Regions from separate parts of the Homo sapiens genome. Here regions 2 and 3 are each linked to region 1. Evidence: promoter capture Hi-C in human tissues and cell types (Jung and others, 2019). All regions are on one chromosome and are shown on one strand. The core of a region is centred on a gene start or on the middle of the fragment in contact, and the rest is flanking DNA. Distances in the headings are between cores, read along the strand shown. Region 1 holds the start of PCDH18 (protocadherin 18). Region 2 has its middle 63 kb from the start of PCDH18. Region 3 overlaps LINC02172 (long intergenic non-protein coding RNA 2172).

What was found. The method cuts DNA at HindIII sites, captures the fragments that hold promoters and counts their contacts. A contact is called where the count stands out against the background at its distance.
Region 2: a fragment that was not itself captured here is called in contact with the fragment with the promoter of PCDH18 in region 1 in 2 of the 25 tissues and cell types used here (mesendoderm cells and thymus).
Region 3: a contact is called between a fragment that was not itself captured here and the fragment with the promoter of PCDH18 in region 1, in 2 of the 25 tissues and cell types used here (mesenchymal stem cells and pancreas).

The regions. Positions count from the first base shown.
Region 1 is chr4:137,530,827-137,534,902 of GRCh38, reverse strand. It overlaps PCDH18 (protocadherin 18), which reads left to right and starts at 2,409. Exons shown (of 4, transcript NM_019035.5): 1 at 2,409-4,076. The coding sequence starts at 2,815. RefSeq lists an enhancer at 2,381-2,500. The HindIII fragment of the contact is 2,929 bases long and covers 569-3,497 here.
Region 2 is chr4:137,467,088-137,471,163 of GRCh38, reverse strand. No RefSeq gene overlaps it. Among named protein-coding and RNA genes, the nearest start is that of PCDH18, 63 kb to the left of the region's middle. The HindIII fragment of the contact is 4,226 bases long and covers 51-4,076 here.
Region 3 is chr4:137,564,564-137,568,639 of GRCh38, reverse strand. The region is part of intron 1 of LINC02172 (long intergenic non-protein coding RNA 2172); the gene reads right to left. Among named protein-coding and RNA genes, the nearest start is that of LINC02172, 21 kb to the right of the region's middle. The HindIII fragment of the contact is 4,174 bases long and covers 1-3,809 here.

The DNA.
Region 1 (4,076 bases), core at 1,160-3,659:
ACAATATTACAAAGAAAAGATTTATTTTTAATTCTGTACTTTTGGGGAAAAAAACATAAAGAACAGATCAGTGCATAACAAGGATAAATCGAAAGCACATCACTTTTGAGTAGATACATGTGACTTCTCAGGAAGAGATTGGGAAGCTGAAAAGGAAATAATATGTGGTAAGGATGATATTGCAAGTGAAAAAAGCCACTGTTGGTGAAAGAATGCCAAGTTCTTTAAATACTTACTCATAGAAACATATCATTTTGGAGGATATATTATTTTACAAGTTATTTAATATTTCAGTAAGTTACAGTGAAGCTCTTTTTCACAATGATTATTTCTGTTCAAGCCCACTGTCAGAAATAAAAGAGCTTTTTATTATTTTTACTTTTTAAGCATAAAAAAAATCCGTATCAAGGTAATCAAATCGATTGCTCTTGAAGTTTTTTGGGGGGTAGACTTATCAAATTCTGAAAGAAAATTTTCCTAGAACTAATGGAATTAGGTTACCTTTGAATTCTCACCCCAACTTTGAATAGTCACTAATTCCTTTCTTTGCTCTTTTGGTGTTTGCAAAGGGGTTCGCTAAAGCCTGAATTGATATAATTATTGGCTCAGATTGTTAGAGATCTAGGCCAGATGGCTATGGGTTTCTAAAGTCCCCCTTGCTTGTGGTAGTTTTCCTAGTTTGCCTATAGGGTTTGGGGATCAGCAATTTGAAAGGGCTACAAACTTGTAAAACAGTATTATTCATGGGGGCAGAATGTTCATCAGCGTGACCCAGTACTAAATACATTCATTATAGGCATTTCTATTCTGCACAATTTGCCACACAGCACTGATTTCAGGAGGGGGAAAAAAAGACAATGGCTTATAAAATGCTTTTGAATGCCTAAAAAGAAGGAGAATTCACGCTGAGACTCCTCTGCTTTCTTTTTTGGAAAGAGCCTTCTTAGTGACTTTAGCTGAGCTCTGCTGAGAGTAAGCAAAGTGGAAAAATCAGAAAATTACTTTTTTTATATGTTTCTGGGGGGCAAAATAGACAGTGAGAAAAAATAAATGGAAAAAAGTGACAATGACATTCTGTGAAACAGCAAATATGCAAGCGGATGAAGACAGCTGAGGAATAAGGAAAAAGGTATGAAAAAAAGCAGCAAAAATGGAGCCACGATGATAAACTTAAAAGGAATTGCAGAGCAGAAAGAACATCATAAATAATCATATTTTCAAATAAGAATACCGTATCAGTTTCTGTGACCTGGATAGAGCACAAGCCTCCCATGATATTTCCTAGCATTTTGATGCATACAAAATGCAATTTTCAGCTCAGGCATTTGATTTGTCAGTGTAAACAACCTTTGGGGTTTTTAAAATACATATCTGAAGTGTTTTCATAAATAATGCATATATTATAAAAATTTGACTTGTAAACTATTGAGTCCATGTCCCCCCTGTATTCACTGCAAAGACTAGCCATGTATAGATAGTGCCTTTTGGTAGAAATTGGCATGCTAAAGCTTGCAGTGTCTTTTACCCAAGATAAATAGGATTTTTTTGAAGTACAGGACAAAGAAATATTACAAACAATTTTGCCCAAACTCAAGGAAAGAAATCATACAAGGTAGAACTATATTGTTAATTAGTTCCAAATTCTGAGGTGTTCCCTTAAGTCTTGCTAATTAAGAGAAATGAAGAGTGCAAGATAGCCCTTTTTTTATCTTCAAAGAATAAAGATGAAAGAAAACAGAAAATGAAACCTCTTTACTTGCTCCGTTCTTTAAAAACAGAGCCCCAAGAAAATCTGCTTGTGCTCCTGGAAGGAGAAAGGCCCAAGTATTTACAGAGGGAGTGGGGAAGGAGGTGGTCTGAGAAGCATAATTAGAAGCAAGTTTTCAAATTGTATTAAATTCCTCCACCAACAAAACGCACTTAGAGGTATTTTAAGTTAAACTAGCACTTAAGGACTATGAAAAGCAAGATGATTACATGTCTGTGGCAGAAGAAAGGGCAATTAAGAAAACAAGAAGAATTTAACGTGCCATATAAATAAAGGCGACCAGAAGTTGATTTAAAGTTTTTCTTCTGTAATTTGTCTCCCCTTTGTCATGGCACGCTCAGAGAAAGTGAATGCAGTAGATTGAAAGGCGGAGGGGGAGTGGGGAGGAAGAAGGAAGGAACAGGGAAGGACTGGCTCCCATCTCCTCCCCCAGCCCCCACCAGCCCATCTCCCCTTCTCTCCCTCGCGCACCCACCCCCGCCTTCCTCCTTCTCCGTCTCTTTCTCTCTCCCACCCTCCACTCTCGCCCTCCCTCCTTGGGTGACTCCATCAGCTTTTGATTTGGAAGCACGCTGATTGGCTGGAAGCGATTCAACACACGCTGGGCAAGAGCTTTGTCTGAGTTGAAGTGAAGTTGTACAGATTTTAGACTGGAGTCAGCAATCACGGGTGTTTAGTCTGCAGCCGAGCAGCTAAAGGGAGAAAGAATCGCTCAGGAAAGACACACTGCAGACTCCACCGGCACCCTGCAATAGATGGATTCCGACTACACAAGGGAGAAAACGCGGAGGTGACACTCTCCTGCCTGGAAAGAGGACGAACGACCAAACAAACGCAAGGACTGGACTCCATGCCGAAGGTATCTGGAAGTCGTGACACGGTGTGTATAAAACAAAAGTTTGCGAGCTGTTAATTGCTGTGCTGTGTTATTAAGAGACGCTTTCAAGTTTCAAGTACCAAATGTAGCTTTACGTTGCCAAAGGAAGTTGAGGCAATTGCTTTGCTGTTTTAACTTGCTCTGTGAGGGAAATCTCATAAACTGACCAATGCACCAAATGAATGCTAAAATGCACTTTAGGTTTGTTTTTGCACTTCTGATAGTATCTTTCAACCACGATGTACTGGGCAAGAATTTGAAATACAGGATTTATGAGGAACAGAGGGTTGGATCAGTAATTGCAAGACTATCAGAGGATGTGGCTGATGTTTTATTGAAGCTTCCTAATCCTTCTACTGTTCGATTTCGAGCCATGCAGAGGGGAAATTCTCCTCTACTTGTAGTAAACGAGGATAATGGGGAAATCAGCATAGGGGCTACAATTGACCGTGAACAACTGTGCCAGAAAAACTTGAACTGTTCCATAGAGTTTGATGTGATCACTCTACCCACAGAGCATCTGCAGCTTTTCCATATTGAAGTTGAAGTGCTGGATATTAATGACAATTCTCCCCAGTTTTCAAGATCTCTCATACCTATTGAGATATCTGAGAGTGCAGCAGTTGGGACTCGCATTCCCCTGGACAGTGCATTTGATCCAGATGTTGGGGAAAATTCCCTCCACACATACTCGCTCTCTGCCAATGATTTTTTTAATATCGAGGTTCGGACCAGGACTGATGGAGCCAAGTATGCAGAACTCATAGTGGTCAGAGAGTTAGATCGGGAGCTGAAGTCAAGCTACGAGCTTCAGCTCACTGCCTCAGACATGGGAGTACCTCAGAGGTCTGGCTCATCCATACTAAAAATAAGCATTTCAGACTCCAATGACAACAGCCCTGCTTTTGAGCAGCAATCTTATATAATACAACTCTTAGAAAACTCCCCGGTTGGCACTTTGCTCTTAGATCTGAATGCCACGGATCCAGATGAGGGCGCTAATGGGAAAATTGTATATTCCTTCAGCAGTCATGTGTCTCCCAAAATTATGGAGACTTTTAAAATTGATTCTGAAAGAGGACATTTGACTCTTTTCAAGCAAGTGGATTATGAAATCACCAAATCCTATGAGATTGATGTTCAGGCTCAAGATTTGGGTCCAAATTCAATCCCAGCCCATTGCAAAATTATAATTAAGGTTGTGGATGTTAATGACAATAAACCTGAAATTAACATCAACCTCATGTCCCCTGGAAAAGAAGAAATATCTTATATTTTTGAAGGGGATCCTATTGATACATTTGTTGCTTTGGTCAGAGTTCAGGACAAGGATTCTGGGCTGAATGGAGAAATAGTTTGTAAGCTTCATGGACATGGTCACTTTAAACTTCAGAAGACATATGAAAACAATTATTTAATCTTAACTAATGC
Region 2 (4,076 bases), core at 914-3,413, 63 kb after region 1:
CTAGATTTCCTGTGCCCACCACACTTCTTTGCAGACCCTACTCCATCAGCTGGATATGCTTTCCACTTCCCTCTCAGTAGAGTCCATTCTTTCCTGTAGTCAGTCTCCTTAGTGTGGTTGAGTCAGCATTTCCTGACCCCTTTGGTAACATTATAACCCCACATGTACCTTTCCCCTACAGTATTTGCAAAAGGACAATGTGGGCTTTATTTCAGAGATAATTTGATTTGGTTCTTTCTTTACAACCTTACTGAAAGTACCATGTACATATAAGGGATGTTTGTTTTTGTTCACTGTTGCACTTCCAGAGCCTAGTAGAGGATCTGACAAATTGAACATGTTCAGGCAATAGTTGCTGAAAAAAATTAATAAATCAAAGAATATATCTTACCTACTAAAATAAAATTCTTAATTAAGAAATTCATAATTAAAGGATGTAGGGAAAAGAACGATGTGAAAGAGAAAATTGAGACATTTATCTTAAGTATTATTTTAACTATTGATACAGGTATTGCTCTCCTTTCATTATCTTTTTCTAAATAATAAAGTAGAATACTTTGTTCTTTGTTGCTTTCCTATTTGTACACATATGGATTTTTAATATTTTACTCACAATTTTACTATTTATTAGTAATGGATAATTCAGTTGATGTTTGGATGTTCTATTTCTAATCATACAGGTTCTACACCTATGATATATGGCACAAATGTTAGTTTACTTTTATATGAACAGATTTTAATATGCCCTCGCTTATAGTTTTCAGTGCTTTATAAATTAAGCTTTGGAAGAGCTCTGCTCAGTCCTCAGCAACCATAAACTAGAAACTAATCAGTAAGGATGTGTTAGTTTGAGTTTAATGTCTGCCACATAGCATGTGCCAGCAACTATTTTGGAACAACAACAACAGCACCAATTTTTGCAAGACTTGAAAAGCCAATGAGGAGAAATATCATAAGACCAAAAGGGAACAAAGAAAGAACAACATTTTTGCAGATATCATTTGGTTCATGAAGAATGAAACAGTTTAGTTCCTCAAGGCACTAAAATGTATAACTGATTAGGTTAATTCCCTCAGTTTTTCTTGTTTCCTTTCTACGTTAACAGTTTATTCTTTATCACCTGACATGATATAGATTCTACAAGCTCAAGATAGTTTAAAGTAGGAACCCATGGTTCTGCATATCTTTATTTGCTCACAAATTCTAATACCTATTCCTTGTCCACAGCAAGACTACTAGCTATGAGAATATATTCAAAATGGAAGAAATAGAGTGCAGATATTAAGATGTTTTCAAAAGAATGGTTGAATTCATTTATGATTTGGAGCATAATTTCCTTTGGAGCATTAAAATAGGAGAACACTCTGATTTTGTGAAGAAATTCTAAAAACAAGGAAATTAATATTCAAACTCATAGTTTCTAATTTAATTAAATATTAATTCATAGGGTAAAAGAATAAGTTATATTCTCTATCCATAAGAGATTAGGGATTTCTTTTCAGAAAGTAATACCTTCAGAAACCAAACAATAGAACAAAGTGAAAGTGACATAAAACCTTTTATGGACTGAATTTCTCAGAAAAGAAAAAACATAAATATCAGTTTGATTTAACTTTATCCATTTCATCATAGTGTTACCAGAAAGGGGTCCTGATCCAGACCCCAAGAGAGGATTCTAGGATCTCACATGATAAAAAATTCAGGGAGAGTCCTCAGTGCAAAGCAAAACCAAGTTTATTAAGAAAGTAAAGTAGTGAAAGAACAGCTACTCCATAGACAGAGTAGGGCATTCCTGAAAGAAAGAGGAGGAAGGCATCCACCCTAGGTCTGATACTTGTTTATATATAGGATAAAAAAATCATGGGGTGATATGTTCTGCCACAGGGCTTGTGGTAAGGTATTAATTTTCTTAATTACTCTATTTTGCAAGGATCTATATTATTATCTTTAAAGCAAAATTAGGAATATTCTGATCTCAAGATATCGGGATATTAGAACACTCCTAAGTTGGGTCTGTTTAGCAAACAGTATCAATCTGTTTCCTTAACCGTAAACATCTAGAGGCTAGGAATACCTAACTTACTGGGAATGCAACCCAGCAAGTCCCAGCCTCATTTTCCTAGCCCTCACTCAGGATGGAGTTGCTCTGGTTCAAATGCCTCTGACGTATTTCCCTCCTCCCTTTACAGGAGGGCTGTTAATCCTAAGCATTGCAGACCAATGAAGATCTGTCTTCTGTAGCTTCTTAAGGCTGAATAGGGGCAATGATATTCCTGCCTAACTATTGGGTCTCTTCCATTCAGGGTAGAGAGGAGCACAGTCAGAAAGTGTTGGTATGGTGAGGGTTGTTCATAACTTCTAGTTCCAACAAAAGGTGATATCTGGAAGATTAATAAGTGTCCAATTTAAGAAAGCACTGAGTAAGCTTATCTTGCATTTCTATACAAAGAGTACAATCACAGTGAAAGTAAAATAAGTAAAATCATTCCAAGCAAACTAAACAGGAAGGCTTTCTAAGAACTGGGCAGTTGTTGGAAACAAGCTGATGTAGGGTTGCTGGCTGATTCCAATATGTGTTCAGAATTAGAATATTGATCTAGAGTTTTACATTACCCATTTCTCTTGTTTCTTCTGAGCTGCAGTCAGAGATCACTGGTTGGTTCACTGGAATAAACAAGGTTATTAAATTGCATATTCCGTTGAACCAACCAGTGATTAGCCTAAATTTCAGAAACAAACACAAAAACAACAAATGAGACGAGAATCTAATAGTAAGTGTACCATAGTTTTTGAAACATAATTTCTCTCTCCAGCCTCCCATTTTTACTAAAGACAAATCATGGTAAGACCAATTTGCTTTATTATAATTGGCCTGATTATTTGTATAAAGTGAAGCAAGAATAATTATTTTTCACATAAGCTTTTTAAAGAATTGGCTTTGATGAAACTGTTCCATAGAAGGAATCTCAAATAAGACTTTTTTAAAGCCAAGCCCTGCCATAGGTCTGTACCTTCAAATACATATGAGTTGAGTAAACTCCTCTCCTCTTGAGGTCCCAAGATAACTTGGGGCTCCCGGGCCTGTCAAAAAGTGACATTCTTTATTTACTACAGGTCAGAAACCCTGTACAGGAATTCTGTACAGGGACTAGGTAGACAAGGTATGAGGCTAGTTTTCCCAAGAGGCTTTAATTGGCTTTGTCAAGTTTGATTCCTTAAAAGAAAGCATACCATTCCCCTCAAACTTTGGCAAAATAAGCAATTTCTCCAATTGTGTCTTGTGCAAAGAAAAAAAAATTCTTATTGCTCTTATGCAAATAACTATGCCATAAATTGAGAATACTCACAAATAGTTTCCAAATTCTGGAGAAATCAGGTAGAGAGAAATAAATATGCTCCAAACTTTGTTCACAGGAGTATACTTTACTCAATTGTTACAAGCTGTAAATAACTAAAAAGTTTCCTCAACTCAGAAAAACAAAACAAGGGATCAGCACTGTTTTAAGAAAAAAGTCAAAAAGATTACTTCAGTCTCCTATTAGTTCAGTCCATGTAATTAATTCCTGTTCTACTTGATAGTCATGAACATTTCAGGTCTTCATGAGACCCCTGAAAGTTTTTTTCTGTATTCTAATGTCACAATCTCCAAAGTTATCACAAATTTGCATTTAAGAACATCTATCAAATCCTGGTAGCTTATTGTAAACCACATTTGAAGAGGACCAACACAAGGTAATTGTCTGTGGATGGCAAAAACTTGTAAGACAGCCACAATTAAAGCCACAGTTGATAAGGAAATTTGGTTACTTCTGTGTCATACAAAATTTTACCTAACACTTACAACTATTAATAACATACGCTAAGCCATATTAGAATTATAGAAGTCTTTATAATTTTGGAACAAATACCAATAACATATTTATACAAATACAGCCCAAAGAAAGCCAATTTTATATTTGACAATGTTTCCTGTATTACTTTTATACCAAATAAGCCAAATTTCACCTTTGCATTAGTGTACTGTTGATGTTAAACCCAATTCTTAATAAAACATCATAGATAAATCTACTCAGTTT
Region 3 (4,076 bases), core at 473-2,972, 34 kb before region 1:
GTCTCATCAAACTACCGTGGATATTTTTCACAGAATTCGAAAAAACTACTTTAAATTTCATATGGAATCAAAGAAGACCCCGTATAGCCAAGACAATCCTAAGCAATAAGAACAAAGCTGGAGGCATCACGCTACCTGATTTCAAACTATACAACAAGGCTACAGAAATCAAACGAGCTTGCTACTGGTACCAACACAGACATATAGATCATTGGAACATAACAGAGACCACAGAAATAACACCACACATCTAAACCATCTGATCTTCAACAAACCTGACAAAAAACAGCAATGGAGAAAGGATCTCCTATTCAATAAATGGTGCTGGTATAACTGGCTAGCCATATGCAGAAAACTGAAACTGGACTCCTTCCTTACACCTTATACAAAAATTAACCCAAGATGGCTGCAAGAAAACCTAGCCAACACCATTCAGGATATAGGCATGGGCAAAGAATTCATGATGAAAATGCAAAAAGCAATTGCAACAGAAACCGAAATTGACATATGGGATCTAATTAAACTAAAGAGCTTCTGCATAGCAAAAGAAACGACCATCAGAGTGAACAGGCAATCTACAGAATGGGAGAAAAATTTTGCAATCTACCCATCGGACAAAGGTCTAATATCCAGAATTTACAAGCAACTGAAACAAATTTACAAAAACAAACAACCCCTTCAAAAAGTGGGCAAAGGGTGTGAATAGACACTTCTCAAAAGAAGACATTTACATGGCCAACAAACATATGAAAATAACCACAACGTCACTGATCATTAGAGCAATGCAAATCAAAATCACAATGAGATACCATCTCATGCCATTATTAAAAATTCAAGATGGCAATTATTAAAAATTCAAGAACATAGATGCTGGTGAGGCTGTGGAGAAATAGGAATGCTTTTACAGTGTTGATGGAAACGTAAATTAGTTCAACCATTGTGAAAAACAGTGTGGTGATTCCTCAAGGATCTAGAAACAGAAATACCATTAGACCCAGCAATCCTGTTACTGGGTATATACCCAAAGAAATATGAATCATTCTACTATAAAGACACATACACATATATGTTTATTGCAGCACTATTTACAATAGCAAAGCCATGAAACCAACAAAAATGCCCATAAATGATACACTGGATAAAGAAAATGTGGTACATATACACCATGGAATACTATGCAGCCATTAAAAGGAATGAGATCATGTGCTTTGCAGGGTCATGAATGAAGCTGGAAGCCATCATTCTCAGCAAACTAACACAGGAACAGAAAACCAAACACCGCATGTTCTCACTCATAAGTGGGAGTTGAACAATGAGAACACTTGGACACAGGGAGGGAAACAACATATACCAGGCCTGTTGGGGGTGGAGGGTGAGGGCAAGAAACTTAGACGATAGGTCAATAAGTGCAGCAAACCACCAAGGCACACATATACCTGTATAACAAACCTGCACGTTCTGCACATGTATCCCGGAACTTGAAGTGAAAAAAAAAAATAAGAAAAAATAAAGTTCTGAAAGAAGAAAAAAAATGTGGTTAAGTGGCAAAATAGGATTTCAATGGCAAAAGATAGATAGATAGATAGATTTTTTTTTTTTTAAGACAGAGTTTCACTCTGCCACCCAGGCTGAAGTGCAGTGGCGCGATCTCTGCACACTGCCACCTCCACCTCCCAGGTTCAAACGACTGTCGTGTCTCAGTCTCCCAAGTAGCTAGGATTTCAGGCCTGCGTCACCACATCTGGCTAATTTTGTTGTTGTTGTTGTTGTTTGTTTTGTTTTGTTGTAGAGATGGGATTTCACCATGTTGACCAGGTTGGTCTTCAACTCCTGACCTCAAGTGATCTGCCCGCCTCAGCCTACCAAAGTGCTGGGATTACAGCAGTGAGCCACTGTGCCTTGCCTAGATAGATGAATTTTAAAAGCCAAAGATGGAACCTAAACTGGTGGAGTATTTGTACTTACAGAAAATAAGCTTCAAGAGAAGCAGGCAAGGAAATAAGAGAAGGAGTAATATGGAAGAAAAGAAGAAAAAGAATGGTAGAAAAAAAAAGATTGTTATCAGAATTAATTAACGACTAAAATTTTTAAGATTAAAACTAAAAAGGGACTACTGGATTTGACAAATATACTTTTGTTCATTACACAGTAATCAGTTTTTACTGCTTATTTCATAGCATTTATTATTAAATTATTACTCCCATCAATATGAAGGAGATTTAATGATGGTTGAAAATAACAAAGAGTAAATAATCCTCTTATGGTTTTTTTCCCCATATTTCCTAAGTAGAGTGGAATCATTAGAGCAGATTCTACTTACCTTCATTAATCTAATTTTAGGAAGCTCTAAGGAAAGGGTAATCCATGTATGTAGAATAAGTAAGTTTTCGGTAGTGTGAATTCACTGAGATTTTTATATTGATTGGTTATATATTAAATCTATATAAGCCTATTATTCCATTGCTAAAAATACCCACACTGGGTAATTTATAAAGAAAAGAGGTTTTTAATTGGCTTAAGGTTCTGCAGGCTGTACAGGAAGCATAGTGGCATCTGCTGCTGAGGAGGTCTCAGAAAACTATGATCAGGCAGGAAGGCAAAGGGAGAGCAGGTACGTTACATGGTGAAAGCAGGGACAAGAGCGAGACAGAGGGTTCCACATGCTTTTAAATAACCAGATCTTGAGAGAATTCTCTCACTATCGCAAGGACAGCACCCAGGGGAAGGTGCTAAGCCATTCATGAGAAATTTGCCCCCATGATCCAACCAACTCCCACCAGGACCTACCTCCAACATTGGTGATTATATTTCAACATGAGATTTGGGCCATGACACGCAATCAAACTACATCAAATCCTATTTTCTTATAATTTTTTTGCCAATGTAATAGCTTAAGACACACTAGAATAAAGAGTAGTAAGAAAGCTCTAAGTCAAGAGAAACTCTCTTCATTAAAATTACAATGTTAGTCATCATTAAAACAATCTCTACTTGAATCTTTTCTATATTTCATAATTAAATGTAGTGTCCAATGTAAGCTTTTCTTTCTATGGTGGTGGTGGTTGTAAAGAATCAAATTTTATGTAAACTTGGTCAATAATATAATTGTCTCATTATACTATATTGTTTTGGCTGTTTGGCAGGATTTTTCTTCCCAAAACATGTATTTTTTTTATTTTCCAAGGGTCCTCAAAACATACTTTCTTTCAGAAAGTTACTATCTCCAGTTTGGTGCCCCTGTGTTACTAATGCAGATAAGCAGCTTAGAGGAATAGATCTTTTAGTTAAGTATTTTTTTAAAATATGGCTTATTTTCCCTAGACTCCTTTGGTTTATGTGAGAATTTGTATTGTTAAGATAAAATTGTATTCTATTATCTTCAGCAGATACCTTCCAAGACCACCTCCTGCAGTGATACCAAAAATGCTGGATAGTACCAAACTCTATATATACTAATGTTTGTTCCTATACATACATACCTATAGTAAAGCTTAATTCATAATTAGGCATAGTGAGAGAATAACGACAACAATAGTAAAACAATATTCCAGCATCACGACTCTTGCACTTTCAAGTTATTACAAGTAAAATAAGGGTTACTTGAACACAAGCACTGCGATACCACTAAGTCAATCTGATAACAGGAACAACTACTAAGCGGCTAATGGACAGGTTACTGCCTACAGGGTGGATATTCTGAGGCAAAGAAATAATTCATGTATCACGCAGGATGGAGCAGGACAGCATGGGATTTCATCGTGCTGCTCAGAATGCTACTCAATTTAAAGAATATGAATTGTTTACTTCTGGAATTTTTTATTTAATATTTTCAGACCTCAGTTGGCTGTGGGTAACTGAAACCACAGAAAGCAAAACCGTAAATAAGGGGGGAATACTGTCTACATCCCCCTAAACTGGTAGGCTTCTTTAGAAAATGTTCTAGCCAATGTTGGCAAACTAGGGATTAATGTTTTATACCATCCAGAATCTACATATTGATAATTGATATCTTTAGAATGAAGAAATGTATCTTTACCATCACGGGTATTTGTTTATTCTCCACATATGTCAGAGGA